Regions from separate parts of the Homo sapiens genome. Here region 1 is linked to region 2. The links are contacts of gene promoters, found by promoter capture Hi-C in blood cells and fetal thymus (Javierre and others, 2016). All regions are on one chromosome and are shown on one strand. The core of a region is centred on a gene start or on the middle of the fragment in contact, and the rest is flanking DNA. Distances in the headings are between cores, read along the strand shown.

Region 1 (4,967 bases), core at 1,776-4,275, 570 kb after region 2:
CTCGCACCTCCTCCTTGACAATATTGATATTTTAAGTTGTTTACAAAACTGAAACCACCATCAATTAAAAAAAATGTAGATAGACAACTGAGAAAATATTAAGGGCAAATAATGTTCATTGTTGAGAACTTCATTATATCAAATGCTGTGACAAATTCCCCAAGGAGCAGAACTGTGGTTAAGAACACAAGCATACTGGCCGGGTGCAGTGGCTCGCGCCTGTAATCCCAGCACTTTGGTAGGCCAAGGCGGGTGGATCACTTGAGGTCAGGAGTTCGAGACCAGCCTGACCAACATGGTGAAACTCTGTTTCTACTAAGACATACCAAAATTAGCTGGGTGGGGTGGTGTGTTCCTGTAGTCCCAGCTACTTGGAAGGGAGGCTGAGGTGGGAGAATCACTTGAAATTGGGAGGGAGGTGGAGGTTGCAGTGAGCCAAGATTGCGCCACTGCACTCCAGCCTGGGCAACACAGAGAAACTCCATCTCAAAAAAAAAAAAAAAAAAAAAAGAACACAGCATACCAGTCAGATAGGTAAAAGTTAAAATCCCAGCTTTCCCACTTACTCATGATGCAACCTTGCCAAATTGCTTAAATCCGCCAGGCCTCAGATCACTCACCATTAAAATGGCGACAACGTGCCAGGATGGTTGGAAGTATTAAGGAGACTATAAGGGAAGCACCTGGCACATCATGAACAACTAGCAAATGGTAACAGGAAAACACTGAAACCCTCCAAGAAAATTAATGGACAAAGGACATGAGCTAAAAAGTCACAAGTAAGGCCGGGCGCAGTGGCTCACACAATTACTCACAATTAAAGTAATCCCAGTACTTTGGGAGGCCGAGGTGGGCGAATCATGAGGTCAGGAGCTCAAGACCAGCCCGGCCAACATGGTGAAACTGTCTCCACTAAAAATACAAAAAATTAGCTGGGGGTAGTGGTGGGCACCTGTAATCCCAGCTACTTGGGGGGCTGAGCCAGAAGAATTGCTTGAACCCGGGAGCTGAGATTAGGCCACTGCACTCCAGCCTGGGCAACAGAGTGAGACTCCGTCTCAAAAAAAAAAAAAAAAGTCACAGGTAGGAAATACAACCAATAAATCAGCATATAGGAACAGACTTATTTCCTTTAGTCACAGAGGAAATGCAAATTAACACAAAAGGTGACACACCCCTCCCTTCAATTAACAGAAACATTTTCAAGTGATAATTCCTGATGCAGAGGAAGGTGTGGTCAAACTGAGCCGTCCACACTGTTGGTGGCTGTGAAATCTGTACAACTTTTGTGGAAAGCAATTTGGCAATATGGGTCATCACACAAACATGTTCGCAACCTTTGGCCCAGACATTTCCTCAGGAAGTAATCCAAGATGTGGAAAAAGCTATGTGTACAATGATGCTTCTGCCATTGTTTATAATGATGGGAAAAGTACATTTATTTTTTACTTACATAAAGGGTAAGACCTTAGTCAAAAATACACAGTGGGTGGTAACAGCCCTCACAGGTCAGTGGAGTAATTGTTTTGTGTTAAAGAGGGACATATAACCAATCATTTAGGCCCCCAGACAGTCCCTAAACCCTGTTTTAATTCATAGTTGAATATATTTATTTAGAAAGGCTTTTAGAGCTCTACTAGCCAGCGGTCAGATTAATAGATCTAAAAATTATGTTCCTAAATCTGTTCATTATCTGGCGAAGCTTGGAGTAATTTGAAACTAAGGGAAAGATAAAAAGGGGAGAGTATTCTGTCATCTGTACACCAGATTTTAAAATCTGTTTAGAGGAGGAAGGAAGCAAGCCAGGGTGGAAACTTCCATTCTTCAGCCCAGGCCATTAGAGGCGCAGCCCCGACTGAGTGACACATCAGAACTAAGGATGGGCTCTTTCTTCTTTCCCTCCTGTCCCCCTGCGCCTCCCTTTCCCCAACTGGAGGAGAGGTTTGGCGAGTCTCTCTGCCTGAGGTGGCAAGTTCAGCCGGACCTCAGCTGCTTGCTGGGCTGTGCGTGTGCAGCCGCGGCGTGAGTCACATCCTCTATCACATCTCCATCTGTGTGCTTTGTGGCGCAGGAGGATCCCAACGGCACTCCAAGAAGGCAGGATTGTGCAGAGATGACGGCACCCAGTCCGAGCTGTGCCTTCTGTCGCAGGCTCCTTGAATGGTGAGGGCTTCTTGTGGCTACATTCCCAGGGTGGATTGGAGTCAGTCCTGGCATAGTAACTCCAGTGAGAGTGGGCGGCAACTAACTGAGGCCACTGGCTGAGTTATAGAGTCACAGATCTCAGGCCTGGGCACAGAGCCCAGCCTCCCTCGCACCCTACAGATCCTCTAGCAGTGGTCCTCAACTGGGGAGACCATCAAAATCACCATGGGAGATTTTACAATCATGCACATGCCTCCATCCCACCTACTGTCTCAGCATCGCCAGCGGTGGGGCTCTGGTAGGAATATTGCTTTTAAATCTCCCCAGGTGATTCCGATAAGCCCCCTTGGTTAAGAATCATGGTTACAGCCCACGGAGGGTGGTCCTGTAGGCTTTTGATCATTGCCCACATGGGGGATTCTTATCCTGTATAACAAACAGCTCCCACCATCCCTACTCTCTCCTTATGATGAGCAAAAGTCTTCTCTGTTGGGTTTCACCTGAGCCCCCCAGTCCCAGGAACAAGCCTCATCCCTCTTCTCAGGGCTGATTTCTTCCCATTCCTAAGGACGAAATCTTCCAGAGCTAACAAGCTGTAAATCATGTAAAATCCTCAGGAGAAATCCTTTGTTTTTGAAACACCCATTGGTGCAACTATTAATCTGTGTCGATTCAGTATCATTTATTTGAAGCTTCTTTCAGGTAGCGAGAGATGTTACCTCTAAGCTCACTGTGGACTCCGGCCAAAGCTCGGCTCATTGACCTTTGGAAGGTCAAGAGTCAGGGAGGCAGCAGGTGTTTAGCAACCACTGTTATATGTACGTAATGGATTCTAATAGAAGCAGATGACAGGGTCTGAAAGACTGAGGCTTCCTGTTAGAAAGCATTCCATTGTGGGAATGGGCACCTGCCTTAAGAGTTCTAATGAGTGTCCACCCCTGAAAAAAGAAACTGCATGAAGCTCGTGCTAAAAATGGTCATGTGTCATTGTGTGTGGGTCATTAAACCACCATGTCAGTCATCAGCTTTGAGCTGCCCTTTAATCCAAGGGGCACTCATGAAGCTTACTCACTGAGTCATCCCAGGCCTACTATTTTTATTTATTGAATTAAAGTCTAATTTTGGATTTTTAAAGGTTTTACTAAGTATAATGAAAGTATTTTGACATTAAAGAACCATTTTTATTAAGCACTCAAGGTACTAAATTTCTCTCTTCTAAATTCCTAGTCTAGACCCTACAGAAGTACATTAAGTACCAAGACAGGGACCAATGTTCCAGACTAAATAATACTTTTTTATGATAGACAAGCTGGAAAGACAAGCACAACCAAGTGTAAAATCAAATCTCACAGTGAATCCACTGCTGGGGAGTGATGAGAAGATACACATGACTTATGAATTAAAATCTTGTAACTTACATAATCCCTGAGGAATTATTGATTGAAGGGAGGACTATATATTCTTTCTGTTAGAAGATTAAATCTCTCTCTGATGGGACTTGTCCTTTATGAAGCTTGCTGAGGTACATACTGTTTTCAGGATATTTGTAAATTGTTTATATATAAGTGGATAAATTACATATGTATAAAATGTAAAATATGCTTATCCCTTTATGTTATTTCTGATGCAAAACTTTGGATTTAAGTGTGTACTTTAGCTGCTTTGTCTTGTTGAAAAACTGTCTTCTCCAGAGGAATTATGTTTGGCCAGAAGATTTGAGTACACAAAGGAGTTTAAAAGCAGAAAAAGTCCTGTGTTGGACTGCATGCACTTGAGTGAGATCCAAGTTTCCCACTTTGGAGAGCAGATGTTCAAATGCCCCAGAGGAGAAGGGTGGAGACAGAAAATGAGGTGTGAGAAAATATGTGACTCAAGAGGACAGCATGTTTTTCCAAGAGGAGGGAAAGAGCCTGGCTTCTCAGCCCCAGCCCCACAAACCCGCAGCCCCATCCCTTCTCCGCCAACAGCAGGCCAGGGCACAGCGCGGCGAGCATGTGTTTGCCCAGCAATGCCTTGGGCTCAAACCCTAGCCCTGGGCAATCTGCCTCATTTATGCCAGGATATCTCGGGCACAGTGCCTTCCATACTAAGAATGAACAACTTTCCCTGGGGGCTATGACTGTATCCCAGGAGCTTAGCAAGAGCTTTGTTCAGAACTGTTATTAATTCGAATTCCTTTGGAGGAGTTGGGATTTCTGAGGAGGAGGGAGGAAGCTGCAGGTGGGCCACAGGAAGGCTCCTGAACAATGTCCATTGCAGTTGCTTCTTTCTGACGCCACCTGGTGGCCATGTGCAACTAAAATCACCTTCACGTGCTCCCTCAGCCTTTAGTCCCACAGACACCCGGCAAAGCCCACTTTGCTGGAGTTGTTGGATGTAATCAGCTTGTACTTCCAGGACCAAAGCTACGTGACCCATTACTGACGTATAGCATAGTTTCTTCCCCTGGTAGGAACTGTTTGTTTGTTTGTTTGTTTGTTTGTTTGTTTTTGAGATGAGGTTTTGCCATGTTGCCCTGGCTGACCTTGAACTCCTAGTCTCAAGCCATCCACCCTCCTTGGCCTCCCAAAGTGCTGGGATTACAGGCATGAGCCACCATACCCAGCCTGGAATGGATTTTGATGCATGAGGAAAACTCCAAATTTTATAATTCCATACTTCAAATGTGTTTTGTGAATGTGTATGTGATGATTAGATATTAACCTCGGCAGAACAAAACATTTATTTTTCATGTCTTGTATACATTTTCTTTTTTTTTTTTTTGAGTAGGAGTCTCGCTCTGTCACCCAGGCTGGAGTGCAGTGGCGCGATCTCGGCTCACT
Region 2 (4,932 bases), core at 2,309-4,808:
GTAAATCCATTTCGGCCCTATAATTTCTGGAGCAAACGTGTATTTTTGCTGCTTTTCTTATAAGGAGATGCTACTAATTGACTATCAGAAGAACATGTTTTGAGGTCCTCCTCAAAACATTGATGGGTTGGAATCAGCCATCAACAGTGTTGTACCAGTTCTTGGGTCTTGATAGACAATTTGGAAAGAGATTTCCTTGTTTACGAAGTGAAGGACTAAGAATTAAATTAATGACCTTGGCCTCACTGGCAATCAATTACAAATCTCTATATCAGTAAGAGAATTGTAAAATTCAGAAGCAGTTTACATTAGACTTTGGAATGAATGATGAACTTTCCCCATTAGAGCTGCCATCATATGATTGGTGGAGATTGTTTAAAGAATCATTCTATCTCAGCCTCAAAAATTACCACGGGAAGATGGTATCAGTATCACTACTTAACAGATGAAGAATCTAATGCTGTGTGCCCATGGACACACAAAATTAAGCTGTTGGGACTTGAACAGCTCAAATTTTCTTGTTTCAGATCACCAGCTCTTGAGTAATAGGGAAATCTGGAGATTTGAAAAGTACTTGCACTGTCCACAACATGGCTAATCCATATGTGGATGATGCAGAATTGATTTAATTCACTAACAGGGACCCCATAATTATTTGCTGGGCTCTGGGTATATTGATGTGTAGGAAGTTGTACTATATGTTAATAAATTATGACTATTTGGATAGGCTGAATTCATACTAAATCCATACTGTAGTTCAACAAAAAACAACATGTTTATATACATTTGGAAACTGCAATGATAGGAAACATTTGGAAGAAAGGGATTTTGCCCTAGAATAACACATAAGGAAAGCAGAGAATTAGAGTATATTGTTACTGAATGTTCCAGAGACTTCTAGTGATTTTAACACTTATTAAGTATAGCATGTTGATGGGGAGATTTGTTTCTCTAAAGATCACTTTGTTTTATTAAATCCTAATAGAAAATACCCTTGAAAATCCTATCTCATTTATTCCTGTAACAAATTTATTGAGCACCTACCTACTATATGCCAAGAAATGTATTAGCCATCAGGCAGAGAGCTGTTCAAATGGTAGATATGATCTGTGCTCCTGTGAAACTTCTAGTGGGGAGAGCCAAACAATAAACAATATTCCTTTTTAACTCTAGGTTAATGCAGAAATGGATAAAGCCCATGTTGCTTTTGGGAGAGGTGAGTTGTGTCTCTGAATCACATGCATTTCATAGGGGGAAAAATGCCCAAATACTAAGGAGTAGCTCTTAGCCTATGTCCGTTCGCCTCAGCTTAAGTTGTTTTCCCTCCCACTGGCTGGGCAGCATATTTGTGTTTTACCTGGTAAAACAGTAAATTTCGTACCTTCTATAATTGGCATTCTTCAAAGAGGTAGAACTTTGATTTTTTTGTAGAATATTAAAACAAGCTTTCTTAGGTTAAAGAAGTGATCTTACTACGAACAGCAATGGTTTCATGATGTGTAATTGCTTTATGTTATCTTTCTGCTATAGAATGTTTCCTGGAGAAAGGTACGGTTTTTAGTAATAAGATAAATTTACTTTAGTCCTGCAAATAAGGTGAAATCTTATGTCCAGTATCTCACAAAGGAGAACTGACAGTGCCACTTTTATATTTAATGTCAATCTCATTAGACAAAAATGAAATATAGTTCCTAGGGTTTCCAATTTAAAAAGTGAAATAATAAATATATTCACTCAAACATTTTCTCAGTGCCATATGCAAGTTACCATGTCCCAGAAGCTGATACAGTTTGAAGAAGGAAATATATAAGTACTGTAAGCCTGTGATAACTAAAAGCAACATACTAAAAAGTGAAGGTACAGATAATTGGAACAAATTTAATAGCGTTTAAAAGTGTATTTGGTAATTTCTCCAGGAGGTGGCACTGTTGAGTTGTTTTTTCTTTTCAGACAGTAAGACAATAGACCATTCATCTTTGTGTCACCCAAACAAAGAAATATTCCTTTATAACCCCCTTTCCTCCCCCCACCTAATCACATGCTACTGGAACTGACTGTCTTGTGATCTACTCCCATAGTTGGCATAGATTTAAAAATAATCTTTTTTAAATTAATCTGATAGTAGTTATGGAAAGGAACAAATTGTTCACCAATTTTCATCAGCTTTATCTTTTCAGTCCAGTAACTGAGAACTTAAAAAGACTATTCTAGTGATTTTACTATCCTGCTCAGATGGCATTCAAAAACATTTTTCACTTCTCACGTCTTGGAAAAATTTGTAAATTCGTTAAGTCTTTTTGTTTGAAAGTTAATGTGACTGGAAATATTTTAATGTAAATATCGGGTTGGGTGCATTGTATCATTTTGCTCTACAATGACTATATCCTCATTTGGGTTTATGGCCAGTTTATAATTAAAAGTAATCTTTACTTGCTTTGAGTGTAATGACTTGCATATTTTGTATCTTTCTATTTGCTACCTTTTCTACTGAACAATTTCTAGCTTTCTGAAGGGATGGAGTCAGTAAGCTTAAGGATTCAGAACTGGTTTTACCTGTGCTACGTGTTGTAGAAGTTGTGTGTGCAGCTTCTGCGGTAAAGGGAACAGCGTAGGGGTTTTATTTTATTCATTAGAGGTGGATCGGGGTGCTAATTTAGAGGACATCACATACTGGAACCAAACTTGTCCGAAGCTCTCACTGCAGAGTTAAGGCACTTTGGTAAAATAAATGTGCATCTAGGAAATGATCATGTGTACAGTAGGCATTGGATCATTCTCTTGCCCCTCTTTTACCTGCCCCTAATGCCTAAGCTACATTCGAAGTCCTGGAAAACCTGTAAGTAATTCCGCCTTTGGCCTACCTCCCCTCAGAAGAGGAAGGTGAGAGAGGCCAAACGTATGGAAAGACTATTCTTCAGGCTTGCAGGAGTCACGGATGTCCTGATGTCTGTCTCCGTAGGATGTGGCCCACATCAGTTCGCATTCACCTTCTTGCAGCAAGGCAGCTGCTTAGCAGACAATGGGCGCTCCAGTGAGCGGGGTTTATAAAAACCCGAAGCCCCGGTTCATGATGGAGCCCCCTTTTCCAGCTGAGCAAGCTCAGGGATTTCCTGGGTAGGTTTTTCCAGGCTCTGCCTCACCGAAGGAATTTTAGGAGTGTCTCTGGGGAACAGGAGGGACGTAACCCAGCCCCAACTTGAGGGCGCTAGAGGTGCGGCAAGGGGTCGCGACGCCAGGAGCCCGGGGCTCGGCGGGAAGGTATGAGAAGCTCCTACGTGAACTCCACAAGCCGGGCCCGGGAGACGCCGGGCGAGGCGGGGTTGACCTCAGCAGTCTCTGCCCCGTTCCAGCCAATCAGTCCCGCATCTTAGCATCCGAATCCAGGACCCCCGAAGCCGGAGGCGACGCGAGCCAATGAGGAGTGGGCCGGGGAAGAGGGACAGGCGGCCAGCCTATGGGGCGGAGAGGCCCGGCCGCGCGTATCCAAGGAGCGCCGCGCTCGGCTCGGGGGTGTGGCGCGCGCCGGCGGGGGTGGGCGGGCGCGCCGGGCGGCAGGTGTCGGCGTCGGCGGCATTCGGCGGCGATGGAGCGGCCCTGGGGAGCTGCGGACGGCCTCTCGCGCTGGCCCCATGGCCTCGGCCTCCTCCTCCTCCTGCAGCTGCTGCCGCCGTCGACCCTCAGCCAGGACCGGCTGGACGCGCCGCCGCCGCCCGCTGCGCCGCTGCCGCGCTGGTCTGGCCCCATCGGGGTGAGCTGGGGGCTGCGGGCGGCCGCAGCCGGGGGCGCGTTTCCCCGCGGCGGCCGTTGGCGTCGCAGCGCGCCGGGCGAGGACGAGGAGTGCGGCCGGGTCCGGGACTTCGTCGCCAAGCTGGCCAACAACACGCACCAGGTGAGCGGGCGCCGGGCCCGGGAGCCGCTCGGGTGCGAGGTGCCGCCCGCGTGCCCCTCCCGGCCCGTGCGCCCCGCGACTCCCGGAGGAGACCCCAGCCCTGCCGCGCCCGCGTCCCCCGGGCCGCAGCCCCGAAACTGCGGCGGGCGGGCGGGCGGAGTCGGGCCCGGGCGGCCGGCGGGGCTGTGTTTTGTCATAGGGGAGGCAATCTTAGACTTCCACCGCATTCTTTTTTTTTTTTTTAAGTTGTCAAAATCTCTTGAACATCGTTTTTCGTCTGTATAAATAATCAGGACCCAGTAACGCTGTTAGGCCCCAGGAAGGTGAAGGAGTAATTAACTCTTGAGCGCTTGCAGAAGTTGGGCTGCGCAGAAGCAAAGGTGTGTCCTCTCTGGGTCAGTACTTTCCGGGTGGGAGAGGCGGGAGTTCAGGAGGCCCGAAGCAGCGATCTGGTCACCGTGTTTTAATAGTTAAGGGGACTAGCTTGGAAATGAGATGGCAATATTTATGTGATCTCTTTTACTGCTTCAGATTTGACCTTCTGTCATGGTACGGAAGTCTGACTAGCATGTCTATATCCCGTGGTGACAAGATTTTCAATAGTTAAGAAACGCATTGCACATATTCTGCTTTGAGCCAGCTCTTGGTCAAAAGACTTTCAAAATTATGGGATTTCTGTCCCTGGGGACAAGCAGCTCAACCTTTGCACACTACTGGACTGACAAAACTAATTATTAAGAAAGTCCTGGTTCCTTGCTTCAGCACAACTTGGGCATCTTTCTCCTATTTCTCTAAAATTAACAATTTAATCCTTGCTAGCCACATTTGCATAATGTATTTTCAATTCTATATATTTTCTCCCTTGCCTGTTTTCCTCTTTCAAAGAAAATGAATTGCACTTGGGGGCAGAGATGGGTGGCCAAGGCTCTGTGCCAGCACTTGTCCTTCTGTAACCGTTTTTCAGCGTCAGCCAAGCCTCAGTCTCCCTTTGGACTGCCTGGTTATCTGGACCATACTTGTTACCTGTAATAGAATTCTCTGAT

What was found. Contacts are between HindIII fragments. The CHiCAGO score rates a contact against its expected background, and 5 or more counts as called.
Region 1: a contact is called between a fragment that was not itself captured here and the fragment with the promoter of SORT1 in region 2, in 4 of 17 cell types (total CD8 T cells, fetal thymus, naive CD8 T cells and 1 more). The highest score is 7.3, in total CD8 T cells.

What each region holds. Positions count from the first base shown.
Region 1 is chr1:108,827,755-108,832,721 of GRCh38, reverse strand. It overlaps AKNAD1 (AKNA domain containing 1), which reads left to right. Exons shown (of 16, transcript NM_152763.5): 10 at 2,072-2,163. All of the region lies in intron 2 of LOC105378891 (a long non-coding RNA gene), which reads right to left. Among named protein-coding and RNA genes, the nearest start is that of AKNAD1, 27 kb to the left of the region's middle. The HindIII fragment of the contact is 371 bases long and covers 2,840-3,210 here.
Region 2 is chr1:109,396,544-109,401,475 of GRCh38, reverse strand. SORT1 (sortilin 1) reads left to right here and starts at 3,558. Exons shown (of 20, transcript NM_002959.7): 1 at 3,558-3,889. The coding sequence starts at 3,584. PSMA5 (proteasome 20S subunit alpha 5) reads left to right here. Exons shown (of 9, transcript NM_002790.4): 9 at 1-2,434. RefSeq lists an enhancer at 2,424-3,405 and silencers at 3,432-3,561, 3,602-3,671, 3,682-3,781. The HindIII fragment of the contact is 10,275 bases long and covers 2,531-4,932 here.